Regions from separate parts of the Homo sapiens genome. Here region 1 is linked to region 2. Evidence: promoter capture Hi-C in 16 types of primary human blood cells and fetal thymus (Javierre and others, 2016). All regions are on one chromosome and are shown on one strand. The core of a region is centred on a gene start or on the middle of the fragment in contact, and the rest is flanking DNA. Distances in the headings are between cores, read along the strand shown.

Region 1 (7,539 bases), core at 5,040-7,539, 110 kb before region 2:
TGGCTGGGTTTCTCTATGATTTAATAGCAGCCATTGATGATATGTATTGTTTTTAAAAATCCAATATTACCATAGTTGTCCAGTATGATAGCTACTAGCCACATGTGGTTATTGAACACTTAAAACGTGGCTAGTGTGAATTGAGATGTGCTGTAAATGTAAAAATATATGTTGGGTTTCAAATAGTACAAAACAAAATAATATAAAATCTCTAATTTGTTTATAATGATTACATATTTTAAATATTTTGGATACATAGGATTAAATAAAACATTAAAATTAATTTCACTTTCTTTTTAAATTTTTTAAGTGTAAGATTTAAAATCATGTAATGGTTTGCATTAAAATTATATTGGGCCAGGTGCAGTGGCTCACGCCTGCAATCCCAGCACTTTGGGAGGCCGAGGCAGGTGGATCACCTCAGGTCAGGAGTTCAAGATCAGCCTGGCCAACATGGTGAACCCCCATCTCTACTAAAAAATAAAAAAAATTAGCCAGGCTTGGTGGCAGGTGCCTGTAATCCCAGCTACTCAGGAGGCTGAGGCAGGAGAATTGCTTGAACCTGGGAGGCAGAGGCTGTGGTGAGCTGAGATCATGCCACTGCACTCTAGCCTGGGCAGCCTGGATAATGGAATGAGACTCTGTCTCAAAAAAAAAAAAAAAAAATTCTATTGGACAGTGTTGCTGTAAGACATTATAGAGAAAATGTTAGACCCCTGTCCTGTTCTCCCTACCTCTCATTCCCATTCTCCAGAGGCAGCCACTTTCAACTTTTAGTCACTTCTCTGCTGTTTACTTCATTTCCAAGTGACAAGGTTTTAATTATAACATTTATTTGAACACTTATTAAAAATGTGCCAATTATGTTCTAAGCTCTCTGCATTTATGAAGTAAATTCTTAGAATGATCATTTTAAAAATGATGAAACTCTGGAGCAGAAATATTAAGTAATTTACCCAGTCACAGATTAACTAAGTGACAGAGCTTGGATTAGATTCTAATTCTTAGTATCTGGGCATTTGATCAGACGTGGTGGCTCACGCCTATAATCCCAGCACTTTGGGAGGCTGAGGCAAGAGGATTGAGGCCAGGCATTCGAGACCAGCCTGGGCAACAAAGCGAGACTCTGTATCTGTTTATTAAAAAATAAATAAAGCATTTTTTAAAACCTGGGCATCTAATCTCCAAATATATTAGCATATTGCCTCCTCTGCTTACAATCCCCTCATTTTTTCTTTTTAATTATAAATATTATCTAACTCTCTGCTATGGAAGATGAGGATTTTGCTTTTCATACTTCTCCCCCTATTCTCCTTCCCCAACCTGATCTTACACTGGGACTTCTACTCCTATCATCACTTAATTGTATAATTTTTTTAAATTCATATCGAATATATAAATGTACATAGATAATATTGTCTTCTATAGCATACCATGATTACATTTTCTTTCTTTTATAATATTTTTGTATCTCTGGAAGTAGTAATTGCCTTGGTTGTAATTTGTTCAACTTCATTTGTATCTTCTATTAATTGATCATCAGAATCGTTTGTCATTTTTTATTCTCCAAATCACAGGGAGACTTCTTCGAGTTCTACGGCCCTCAGTCAGGACTGACTACTGTCCAAATAACACAGTTGTCATAACAGAATTGATCATATTGGGACTTCCCTTTGTTTTCTCTTGCATTTAAGAGATATGGGGAATCCAAGTCTTTTTCTTTCACGATAGATAAGGTCTCCCTCTCTCACCCAGGTTGTAGTGCAGTGGCACGATCACAGCACACTGTAACCTTGAACTCCTGAGTTCAAGCAATCCTCCACTTCAGTGTCCTGAATAGCTAGGACTATGGGTGCACAGCTAATTTTTAAATTTTTTGTGGAAATAGAGGTCTCACTGTGTTTTCCAGGCTGGTCTCAAACTCCTGGCCTCAAGTGATCCTCCTACCTCGACCTCCCAAAGCCCTGGGATTACAGGCATAAGCCACTGTACTTAGCTGGTAATCCAAGTCTTTTAAGTAGTACCTTGTTCTGGAGAGTGCAATGGCTTCTCAAAATTCTAAGGATATTAACTTAGGTTTTTTGGTTGTTTTAAAATTTTCTTTGTTCCCTGCATTAACACTACAGGTTGAGCATCCATAATCTGAAAATCTAAAATCCAAAATGCTCCAAAATCCGAAACTTGAGTGCCAACATGATGCCACAAGTAGAAAATTCCCTATCTGATTTTATGAGATGGGTCAAAACTTTGTTTCATGCACACAATTATTTCAAAATACTGTATAAAATTAACTCCAGGCTATTTGTATTAAGTGTACATGAAATATAAATGAATTTTGTTTAGACTTGGGTCCCATCCCCAAGCTATCTCATTATATATAGGCAGATATTTCAAAATTTGAGACACTTCTGGTCCCAGCTGTTTCAGATAAGGGCTATTAAACCTGTATTTCCTTTAAGTTCCTTTTTGCTGTTTGGTTTGGTCATAGTCTTTCAAGTTAGAAGCTTGGCCGTAATTATCTCAGGATCCTTCATATTTGAGAGACACAGAGAAAGCTATCTGGAACATCTCTGTGTACATGGGTAGGACTTTTCAGTGGTGAGCTTCATTATAGGTAAGGGAACAGCAAAACATTTTCCTCAGCCTCACACCCCCAGCATTGTTTTTTAAAGGTTTTTCTTCAGGATGGGTCAGTTTTTCTGGAGAGAAATCTATCTCAGGTAGTAGGAGCTGAGCTGTCAGTTCTCAGAGACGAAATAAGGCAAGAAGCTAGCTCATTGTTCAGTATGCAGAGTTTCACTTTATCTCCTTGTTTTCAGTAAGGAGTCCACTGCCATTTCGGCCCCCAGATGTTTAGGAGTTTTCACCTGCCATCTTTACCCATTAATGTTAAATTAATGCAAACAGTAACACAAAATATCAGCTGCCTACAAACAGGTATCATATTGTACATATTCACACAGTAAGAATAGCAGCAAAGTATTAAATATTTGACATGTTATCTGATTTAATCTTCAAAACTTTACTGTGAAGTAGGAACTATTATTATCCTTATTTGGATTCACTTCAACCACATTCTGCCATTATAATACCTTATTGGCCGGGTGTGGTGGCTCACGCCTATAATCCCAGCACTTTGGGAGGCCGAGGCGGGCGGACTGCCTGAGCTCAGGAGTTCGAGAACAGCCTGGGCAACACAGTGAAACCCTATCTCTACTAAAATACAAAAAATTAGCCAGGTGTGGCCAGGCGCGGTGGCTCACACCTGTAATCCCAGCACTTTGGGAGGCCGAGGTGGGCAGATCACCTGAGGTCAGGAGTTTGAGACCAGCCTGGCCAACATGGAGAAACCCCATCTCTACTAAAAATACAAAATTAGCCAGGCGTGGTGGCAGGTGCCTGTAATCCCAGCTACTCAGGAGGCTGAGTCAGGAGAACTGCTTGAACCCGGGAGGCGGAGGTTGTGGTGAGCTGAGATCGCGCCATTGCACTCCAGCCTGGGCAACAAGAATGAAACTTCACCTCAAAAAAAAAAAAAAAATTAACCAGTTGTGGCAGTGTGCACCTGTATTCCCAGCTACTTGGGAGGCTGAGGCAGGAGAACTGTTTGAACCCGGGAGGCGGAGGTTGCAGTGAGCTGAGATGGAGCCACTGCACTCCAGCCTGGGCAAGAGAGCGAGACTGTCTCAAAAATAATAATAATAATAACTTATTAAAATTTCTCTTTTTCTTCTTATCCTTTGCTCCTGGAGAAACTTGTAGCATTAAAAAGTGGTAGTGATAAAATTATATTTTTCCATTAATAAATTGCTATTTTTGGGGACACCGAAAAATATTTTTTACTGGACGGTAGGATAAGCATTCAATTTTTTGTGTCTAATCATACAAAATTTCTCATAGATTAGCTGCTGATCCTACCTCTATCCAGTATTTCTATGGCATACACATTCTAGATAGCAAAGGGGCACATTATCTCAGAATCCAAGAAACCCCACTGAGATCATAAGCACAGAAGAAAGATTATGTGAATGAAAGAAACCTGAGATATTTTGATTAATTTAGAACTCTGAGGCTATCCACTGTTGCCAGTTTTTTCAGGACATCTTTCTCCTATTCCATTATGAAAGAGATGTAGAGTACATATAGCATTTAAAAATATAATCTGGCTTTTCTCATACATATCTGAAACTTTTGATCTACCCTTATATTATCAAAGTAAAAGTGATATTCTCCCATTACTGAAATAAACAGACATTTATTAAATGATGTAGTAAATCATATGCTGTATATTCACATTTTGAGGTCTCTGATACTACAGACCTTAATAATGGTTTTACTCATAAGAGTTTTGTTGGCATAAGGCCAGGTGCTGTGGCTCACGCCTGTAGTCCCAACACTTTGGGAGGCCAAGGCAGGGTGATTACTTGAACCCAGGAGTTTGAGACCAGCCTGGGAAACATGGTGAAACCCCACTTCTACAAAAAATAGAAAAATTAGCTGGCTGTGGTGGTATGTGCCTGTTGTCCTAGCTACTCAGGTGAGCTTCCCAGGAAGTCAAGCTGCAGTGAGCTGTGATCATGCCACTGCACTCCAGCCAGGAGACAGAGTGAGACCCTGTCTTAAAAAAAAAAAAAAAAAGACTGTTGTATAAGTCAGTGCAGTTTAAAAAGTATAATTTGTCCAGAAGCAGAGGTTGCAGTGAGCGGAGATAGCACCACTGCACTCCACCCTGGGAGAAAGAGCGAGACCCTATCTCAAAAAAAAAAAAAAAAAAAAAAAAGGCTGGGTGTGGTGGCTCACGCCTGTAATCCCAGCACTTTGGGAGGCTGAGGTGGGTAGATCACAAGGTCAGGAGATCGTGACTATCCTGGCTAACACGGTGAAACCCTGTCTCTACTAAAAATACAAAAAAAATTATCTAGGCATGGTGGCGGGTGCCTGTAATCCCAGCTACTCGGGAGGCTGAGGCAGGAGACTGGTGTCAACCCAGGAGGTGGAGCTTGCAGTGAGCCAAGATCATGCCACTGCACTTCAGCCTGGGCAGCAGAGTGAGACTCCGTCTCAAAAAAAAAAAAAAAAAAAAAAACCATATATATATATATATATATATATATATATATATATATATATATATATATATGTATATACACACATAAAATTTGTTAAATCTTTGTATCAGAATGACAACTAAAATTGTCTTTCTAAGTTCGATCTAATATAGAAGATACATTATTCTAATTTATTAACCCTTTGTTTATTTGGGTAAATAGAATACATTATCAAGTTTTTTTCTTAAAAAAAAAAAAAAAAGGGTACCAGGAATCCAAAGGTATATAGTCTTGTTCAAGTGTAGCCAAGTGGGGACAACAGTCCCTGTCCCATGCATACAAAAGGTAAAAATAAGTGCTTACCTACCAAACATATTAAATAAAATTGTCAACAATACTGTTAAAGCCTATTGTGTTCGTCTCCCTTCCCCCATTAGAAACCATTCAGAAGTAGATATTTTTATAATTTATTTATACTTACACTATATATGTCCATATGCCTAAATAATAATATATTTTGTATGTTTAAAAACTATACTGGCCAGGCATGGTGTCTCATGCCTGTAATTCCAGTGCTTTGGGAGGCAGAAGCAGTAGGATCAGTTGAGGCTAGGAGTTCGAGACTAACCTGGGCAACATAGCGAGACCCTGTCTCTACAGAAAGTGAAAAAACTATCCAGGTGTGGTGGTGCGTGCCTGTAGTCCCAGCTATTCTGGAGGCTGAGGTGGGAGGATTGCTTCAGCCCAGGAGGTATAGGTTGCAATGAGCTGTGATCTTGCCACTGCATTTCAGCCTGGGTAACAGTGAAAAAGCTTGTCTTAAAAAACAAACAAACAAACAAAAACTATACAGTATATGTTTCTGTAATTTGCTTTTTTCCCTCAACATTGTAAGAGTCATCCATGTTAATACATGTACCTCTGATTTTTCCATTTTCACTAATCCTGTCATCAGGTGTGTCTAATTGGCCATTAAACCTATCTACCTTCTATTGGGTGTTTAATTTCAGTTACTGTAATTTTGTTATCTAAGTTACTGAATATATTAATCACAGTTATTTTAAAGTCTGTGTCTGAAAACTCCAATCTGTAGATCTTCTGTGGATTTGTTTCTCTTGTCTTGTTTTTCCATTATTTCTCAATCATAAGGTCCTATTGACTGCCGTGCCTATTAATTTTTGATAGAATACCTGAAATTGTATGTGAAAATTGTAAGGTGAAATTGTATGTGAAAAATTGTAAGGAAAATTTGTGGCTGTAGCTCAGGGATCTACAAATTATGCCCCATGGACCAAATCTGACCTGCTACCTGTTTTTGTCTGGCTTTAAGAATGTTTGCTGTATGTTTAAATGATTGAAAAATAATCAAATGAAGAATAATATTTGGCAACACATGAAACATAAAATTCAAACCTAAGTGGCCATAAGTAGAGTTACTGGAATAGTCACATTATATATTGTCTGTGGCTGCTTTTGTGCTGCAACAGCAGAGTTGAGCAGTTGCAACAGAAACCTAATTGGCCACAAGACTAAAAGATTGATTATTGCCAACCTCTGTTCTAGCTAGATAATGGTATCTTTCTCTAGAGAGGATTTACTTCTGGTAGGCCCTTAAGATATTAGGAAGATCACCTTAATTCATTCAGGGATTTAATTGATTCAAAGCTTGTTTTGAGTTCTTGTGGGGGTTGTGAATTTCTGGTTCAACTCTACTTCTAGGGCATAGCCTTTTCAGGATTCCGACTAAAAGCCTGATGTATTTACCCACAATCCTGTTCCTTGATGGGCCCAGTACTTCAATGTTGGTTCATTGTCTACAACTTTCCTTCTCCCTGAGATTATGGCTCTTATATATGTGTATGTGTGTGTGTGTGTATATATATATATCTTGACCTCAGTCAAGATACAGAACATTTCCATCACCCTAGAAAGTTCTCTCCTTGCCTTCATATATGTGTGTGTGTATATATGTATATGTATATGTATACATATGTATATATGTGTATATATACACACACATATATGTGTATATATACACACACACACACTGACAGAAATATATATATTTCTGACATTGTCCTTATAGGTACTACAAGAATGACTGCATGAGTGAGTCTAAAAATACACTACATGGGTCTAAAGAGGCACAGACAAGAGAAAACAGGTTTATTTTGCCACCAGTGCATTAGCACACTAATTAAGTGTAGGACTTAACATTCCAAAGGAATATACCCATGCTAGTGGGAGTCATTTACATTTAGGCATTTCTGTTTTCATTATTTTTAAACTGAGGTATAATCACTTACCAAAAATGTACATTTAAGTGTTTAATGTGTTTTGACAAATGTATATACCTATGTACCAATACCTCAGTCAAGATACAGAACATTTCCATCACCCTAGAAAGTTCTCTCCTTGCCTTTTTTGTTTGTTTTTTTGTTTTTCAATTTTGTTGTTGTTGTTGTTCTGAGACAGGGTCTCACTCTGTCAC
Region 2 (7,480 bases), core at 3,005-5,504:
CCTTAATCCATTTAACTCTGAGTTGACACAGCACATGTTTCAGAGAGCACGGGGTTGGGGGTAAGGTTATGGATTAACAGAATCTCAAGGCAGAATAATTTTTCTTAGTACAGAACAAAATGGAGTCTCCCATGTCTTCTACTTTCTACACAGACACAGTGACAATCTGATCTCTCTTGCTTTTCCCCACAAGTTTGAATCACAAAAGATTTTAGGTAAGAACAGGCAGTCATTGAACATAAGTTTACCTTACTTTCTCCAACCTGGCCTAAATGGACAATACCTGCATAAAGCCCAATGGGATCTATTGTTAAATAACTAAAGTATTATTTTATACCCTCGTATTTCATTATGCCAGATTCACTACTATCTAGGAAATGCTTAAGTAACTATATTAAGAATCAAAGAGTAGGCTGGGTGCGGTGGCTCACACCTGTAATCCCAGCACTTTGAGAGGCTGAAGTGGGCAGATCATGAGGTCAAGAGATCGAGACCATCCTGGCCAACATGGTGAAACTCTTTCTCTACTAAAAATACAAAAATTAGCGGGGCGTGGTGGCATGCGCCTATAGTCCCAGCTACTTGGGAGGCTGAGGCAGGAGAATCGCTTGAACCCAGGAGGCAGAGGTTGCAGTGAGCCAAGATCACGCCACTGCACTCCAGCCTGGCAACAGAGTGAGACTCCATCTCAAAAAAAAAAAAAAAAAAAGTTGTAATTTGTAATGATGTGCCTGTAGCATACTAGCTTTAAATATTTTTCATCCTCCATTGTATTATGTGGTAAAATATATACAACATAAAATTTACCACTTTAACCATTTTTAGGTGTATAATTAGGGTCATTAAGTGCATTCACATTTCCAGAATTCTTTCATCATCCCAAACGGAAACTCTGTACCCATTAAACAGTAACTTCTCATTCCCGCCTTCTCCCAACTCCTGGGAACCTCTATTCTACTCTCCATCTGTGTGAATTTGCCCATTCTAGGCGCTTCATATAAGTGAAATTGTACAATATATGTCCTTTTGTGTCTGGTTTATTTCATCTTGCATGTTTTCAAGGTTTATCCATATTGTAGCATGTATCAGAATTTCATTCCCTTTTAAGGCTGAATAATATTCAATTGTATATATATACCACAGCTTTAAATTTTTATTAGGTTTTAAGATGGATGTGATATGGCACCTAATAACACTATAAAGGTTCAAATCTCAAGAAACAGCAATAGTTCCTATTTCGATATATTTTCCACATATCATCTTACTTAGCTTATTTCCATTTTGCTTTAAGGATAATTTGTTTCTGTAATAATGGAAGGTGACATGTCCTCCCCTAGAATTTTCTACTTCACTCCATTCATTCATTCATTCATTCATTCATTCATTGAGACAGAGTCTCGCTGTGTAGCACAGGCTGGAATGCAGTGGCACGATCTCGGCTCACTACAACTTCCACCTCCCGGGTTCAAGTGATTCTCATGCATCAGCCTCCTGAGTAGCTGGGCCACCACACCCAGCTAATTTTTGTATTTTTTTGTAGGCAGTTTCCCCATGGTGGCCAGGCTAGTCTCAGACTCCTGGCCTCAGGTGATCCACCCTCCTTGGCCTCCCAAAGTATTGGCATTACAGGCGTGAGCCACATTGGCCAAATTTTCTACTTTAAACACTGAAAACAGAGGAAGTTAATAAAAATTTTAACCTATAAAGTCCCCTGGTTGTTAGTCATTAACAGCAGATTGTCAGATAAGACTGGTAAAATGATGGCTGCTAAGCATTTGATGATCCAGGCGCAGGATGATCAAACTGCAGCAGATCATGCACGTGACAGCTGCTTACATAGAAATTTAACACCACAACACACATTCTTAGAAAATTCTGTGTTGAAATACATACACTTACCTGATGTGTCCATAAGATCATAATGTTACGGGGAACTCTTAGAACAGAGTGGTTAGAGAAAGGGAACTGGAATTGGAACTGTAAAATTCATTTTCTGGTCTGGTAAATAGCAATTGCTGAGGGTGTCTCATTAAACTGGCACAAGGAACAAAATGTGAGGTATTTAATAATCCTCTCCACTTCACAATGCATTTCCAAAATGACTGGCCTACATTAGGATCATTGTTGAACATATTAATGCAAACATATAGCAGATGTAAAAATTTCTGTGTGCAAAGCAGATGCTGGCCACTTGGAGGGCAGAGGTGAGGGGGAAATCCCTTACCCGAAAATTGCCTCACCTTTACTAGGGAAACAAGCAAAGAATTACAATATGATTATAGAGAGTAGGAACATGACAGTTTCACTAGGCCAATCAGGTTTCTCTAAGAAGATAGAACATTCCTCTGATGAGAATGTTTCTCAGAGAATTAAACTTGAAAATCAGACCTGATGCAAAAAACTTGGAAAATGCACAAAATCACAGAGCAAAATTAGAGATTACTGATAACATGTGGTATATGTCCTTCTAGTTTTTGCTCCATACAGTGGTTTTTATTTATTTTATTCTTTTGAGACAGAGACTCACTCTGTTGCCCAGGCTGGAGTGCAGTGGAGGGATCTCGGCTCACTGCGACCTCTGACCCTGAGTTCAAGCAATTCTCCTGCCTCAGCCCCCCTAGTAGCTAGGATTACAGGCGCCTGCCACCACGCCCAGGTAATTTTTGTATTTTTAGTAGAGACGGGGTTTCACCATGTTGGCCAGGCTGGTCTTGAACTCCTGACCTCAAGTGATCTGCCCGCCTCGGCCTCCCAAAGTGCTGGGATTACAGGCGGGAGCCACCAAGCCCGGCCCATACAGTGATTTTTTAAAATCAGACTGTCCAGTAGTCTTATTTGTGCTAAGTGGAAATTAGGGAAAGGGTCAGAGAAATAGGGATTTCCTTTTGCCTTCAGTAGTATCCTCATGAACCTGCGTCATGGTGTTGTTAGGTGTAATTAATGAAGGTTTCTCACAAGATAAAATGTTATTTTGAGGACCACGTCCGTGGATTGGAGGAAAGGCAGATGGTTAGCTAGTGACGACTTTATTATAATGCTAATTCAGGAGTATCTGGGTCTCTAGTGCTGAGGAAAACTGAATTTTCATGCAAAGGGCATCTATATTTTCACATCTGTATCTTTATCCATCTAGCTGTGCTCTTACTATTTTGTTTCTACGGTAATTTGCTATTTCTTTTGCACGACAATTGCCCAATGAAATAATTCAGATACTTCGTGCACTTTGTCACGCAGAAGTTTTCATGTTACTCTCTGGAAAGGCACTTCCCAAGATGTAGCTAATAAACACTGTATCTTTGGAACATTTTTGTTTTCCTTTTAACTTGTAGCTCCTAGCCTGGAAATTGATACTTTTGACACTTGAACGTTGTTCATATAAAAACACTGTGAAATCAACATACTGTCTTTGAGGAATGGCATTGCATGCGTCCTTTTGAGAAGCCATCTTGTAGTTGAAGGAAAGCAGCAGGACGGAAACCAGACTTCCCCCCCACGGTTCCCTAAAAGTCACGGATAAAGAATGAAAAACCGGGACTAGTTAAGCCAAGGAGAGAAGAGCAAGTGTTCCCGGAAGGGGGCGCGATGTGTTGAGGTTAACAAAGAGAAAGACAGCTGCGGGGTCAGCTAAGGTCTCCGCTTTCGCTACCGACCCAGACTGCTCACCTTCACAAACTCACGTTTTCCTCAAGCGGCACCCTCGGCAGCGCTCAAGTGAGAGTATTCCATCCTTGGAATACTCCGAGAAGGTTCGAGCCAGAAGTTGGATTGCCTGAAATGCCGCTTCCAGCGCACTAAGTAACTTGAACTGCGCTAAGCAACTGGCCAGAATTGGTTTGGTTTGGTTTGACCCTGGGGTTCCTCCGTAGTCTGTAAGTGGAGTTGCGAACTCAACCCCTTCTCCAAGGCGGGAGTGTTTCTAGGAGGGAACATACTTCCCCTTAAAGGAAGATCACGTTGCTAAAGTAAAAAATTTGAAGGCGCCCTATGTGTAGAACACTTACGTTCTTGGCTTTCTGGCCACTATAAAGATGGGTCGGGAATGGCGCCAGCTACGTTAAAAAGTAACGTGCAGGAATGGTTCAGTTGCCCGGTGTTGACCAGAGTAGAGATGGTTTTGCCCACAAAAAAAATGGCGCCGAAACATGTCAATCCGCACAATCACGTGTTCACAAACCTGGATGAGAGATGGTATGGCTTCAGATGACAAACGGATGTTATTATTCTTTACTTCCGGGTGAGACAAATCGGGCGCCATCTTGTCTTGTTCCCGAAGAAGTAGAAGCATCGAAAGCGTTGGAGAGGTGTTACCGGAACGGCGGCGACAAGGGTGTTCCCGAACTAGAGTGGGTAAGTGATGGAGAACAATTATACGTGGGCACTTGCCGGACCATTACAACGTTCTTGGTTTCTGTGGCGAAGGTAGCATAACTTAAAATAGGCTGCGTACGCTGCTTGGCGCGACCGCTGGAACCTCATTCCTTTAAAGCGCTGCGGTCCGCCAGACTTGGTAAATCAGAGCGCTGCTTTCGCTGAAAAGGAAATGTCCTTGTTAAAGAGAGTGCTCACGGTCCCATCTTCTCACAGAGTTTCCTCTCGGACGAGAAGGGACTAATTGTTGGGTTCCTGACCGGCCGTTAAACACTGCGCGTGCGCAGTGGGAACCCCCTTGTGGGAAGGGGGTTCATGGGGGCGGAGGAGGCGGGGGCTCGCGACCTGGAGCTTATACCCTTTGAGGCTCTGACTACGCAGGCGCAGTTCCTTAGTTTGTGTTTTTCGTGTGTTCTTACCCAATGATGGATATTATGTGTTAAGCTTCGCTAAAGGTAGTATCCAATATTTCAGTTTTTTACCCTGTGGTGGATAGTATCGTCATCTGAACAAATTGAGCATTAGACAAATTTGTTTGTGGGTTGTTAAATTAACATTCTAGCTTAAGATTTTAATTCAACATTAATCTTTTACATCTTTTTACTTCCCCCTGCCCCCAAGTAAAACAAAATAAACTTAGAATTCCTCATTTGAGTGCAGCAGGGCGAAAACAACAGCAACCAGACTACTAAAGATTTTACTTGTGGAATTTTTTTGTAAAGTGGCAAAGGGCTTATAGAGAAAACAGTTCTTTAAAGATGTTCTTGAGAGTTTTTTTTTTTAACTTACTAATAGACTTTATGTTTTAGAACAGTTTTTGTTTACGTTGAGCACATACGACGTCCCCACTACACACACAGTTTATCTTCTTATTAATAGATGTTAGTATGGTACATTTGTTGCAACTAATGAACCAATAATGATAAATTATTAACTAAGGTCCATAGTTTATTCCTACTTCCTCACATTTTACCTAAAGTCCTTTTTCTGTTCCAGGATGCCAGCTAGGATATCACATTACATTTAGTTGTTGTATATTCTTAGGCTGTATATTCTTGGCTGTGACAGTTTCTCAGGCTTAACTAGTTTTTGATGACTGTTAAGGGCTGACTTGTGCCCCTCTAAAATTCGTATCTTGAAGTCCTAACCTCAGTACCCCAGAACGTGACTGTATTTGGAGAGAGGGTCTTTAAAGAAGATGAGGTCACTAGGGTGGACCTTAGCCCAATATATTAATAACTGCTGTCCTTATAAGAAGAGAGTAGGATACAGAGGGATGATCATGTGAAGACATAGGGAGAAGACAACCATCCACAAGCCAAGGAGAGAGGCCTTAGAATGAAATCAACCCCATAGAGCTTACACTATACGCCTCCAGAACAGTGAGGAAATAAATTTCTGTTGCTTAAGCCACCCAGTCTTTGGTACTTTGTTATGGCAAGCATACCAAACTAATACAGTGACCTTGACATTTTTTGAGGAGTATGGTCAGGTATATTGTAGGGTGCCCTGCTATTGGAATTTGCCAGACGATTTTCTCATGATTAAAATGGCCTTACGGACTATATCAGGGGAAGATCACAGAGGTAAGATGCCCTTTTCAACACATGCTATCAAGGATACATACTATCAAGGTGACTTATCACATTATTACTGACCTTGATCATCCTTCTGGAGTAGCGTTTGTTAGATTTATCCACTGTAAAGTTACTTCCCCCACCCCTTTTTATACTGTTCTCTTTGGAAGGAAGTCACTTTGCAGAGCCCACGCTTACTGAATGGACAGTTGTGCTCTTCCTCAGTTAGGGTGGAATATTTACATAATTTATTTGGAATTCTCTGTGGGAGATTTGTGTCTTCCCTCACATTTATTTGTTAGTTTATTTTATCATATCCTTATGGGCTTGTGGATGTTTATTACATAACTTATATTATAATCCAGTACTTCTTTATTTTGTTGCTCAAATTGTACCAGCTTTGGCCATTGGCAGCTCTTCGAGTTGTCTACTGTTCTCCTTTGACATGTTCCTATCAATTTTTTTTTTTTTAGCACTTTATTGCTTCCTGGCAGTATACATGCCCCAGACTCATCTTTTATATTTCCTGTCGCAGTCCTAGAGTCAGCTATTTCTTTAAAGATCTCTGATTCCTTTTATTGAAGAATGGTATTAAAACCAAGTTCTCGTGCCTAGGTGTGCTTGTTGCTACTAGGGTGTCATTTTGGGCGCTCTCGCTACATTTATTTTTAAATTATTATTGGGGGGGTATTTATAACCGACTCTCCAATTCTCCAGTTTTTTTTTTTTTTTTTTTTTTTGAGACAGAGTGTCACTCTGTTTCCCAGACCGGAGTGCAGTGGTGGCACAATCTTGGCTCATTGCAACCCCTGCCTCCCGGGTTCAAGTGATTCTCCTGCCTCAGCCTGCTAAGTAGCTGGGACTACAGGTATATGCCACCATGCCCAGCTAATTTCTGTATTTTCAGTAGAGTGGAGGTTTCGCCATGTTGGCCAGGCTGGTCTCGAATTCCTGGCCTCAAGTGATGAACCCACCTTGGCCTGCCAAAGTGCTGGGTTTACAGGCATGAGCCGCCATGCTTGTCCTCCACTTTTAAAATAGTCTTTTGAGCTACAAGCTGCAAGTATTTCAGTATATACTAAAATGCATGTCACATAAAGTAGCAAAATTTCTGTTTTCCGTATTTCGAATGATTACAAGATTAATTTTTACCAGTGCCATTTCCACCTAATCTGAATTAAACAAATAAATTCTTTTTTGACTTTGAGGTCAGTCAACTCATGTAAGACTGAAATGTCAGGGGTGAAGAGGATTGTTGTATTTTCTGGCTTCTCAGCTTTGTGGTTGATTTGAGAAATATTTCATCCTATGCATCAAATGATAGATGTGTTTCTGTAGCTCTTTGATTTTGTAGTTGATGCTCAAGGACTTTAAAATACCACATTTTAATTCTCATCCATCTCTGTCACAGTCTCTGAGTGACTTTTGTAAATATTAATGATTGTCATTTTGGCCACACGGGGTGGCTCATGCCTGTAGTCCCAGCACTTTGGGAGGCTGAGGAGGATGGATCATTGAGGCCAGAAGTTTGAGGA

What was found. The method cuts DNA at HindIII sites, captures the fragments that hold promoters and counts their contacts. A CHiCAGO score of 5 or more calls a contact.
Region 1: a contact is called between a fragment that was not itself captured here and the fragment with the promoter of PNISR in region 2, in 1 of 17 cell types (naive B cells). The highest score is 5.1, in naive B cells.

The regions. Positions count from the first base shown.
Region 1 is chr6:99,533,510-99,541,048 of GRCh38, reverse strand. It overlaps the pseudogene TSTD3. Among named protein-coding and RNA genes, the nearest start is that of USP45, 22 kb to the right of the region's middle. The HindIII fragment of the contact is 852 bases long and covers 5,864-6,715 here.
Region 2 is chr6:99,422,082-99,429,561 of GRCh38, reverse strand. It overlaps PNISR (PNN interacting serine and arginine rich protein), which reads left to right and starts at 4,254. Exons shown (of 12, transcript NM_032870.4): 1 at 4,254-4,347. It overlaps PNISR-AS1 (PNISR antisense RNA 1), which reads right to left and starts at 4,691. Exons shown (of 3, transcript NR_125843.1): 1 at 4,448-4,691; 2 at 4,175-4,338. RefSeq lists enhancers at 3,453-3,502, 3,395-3,689, 3,573-3,792, 3,392-3,912, 3,913-4,432 and 3 more and a silencer at 4,596-4,776. The HindIII fragment of the contact is 21,108 bases long and covers 1-4,814 here.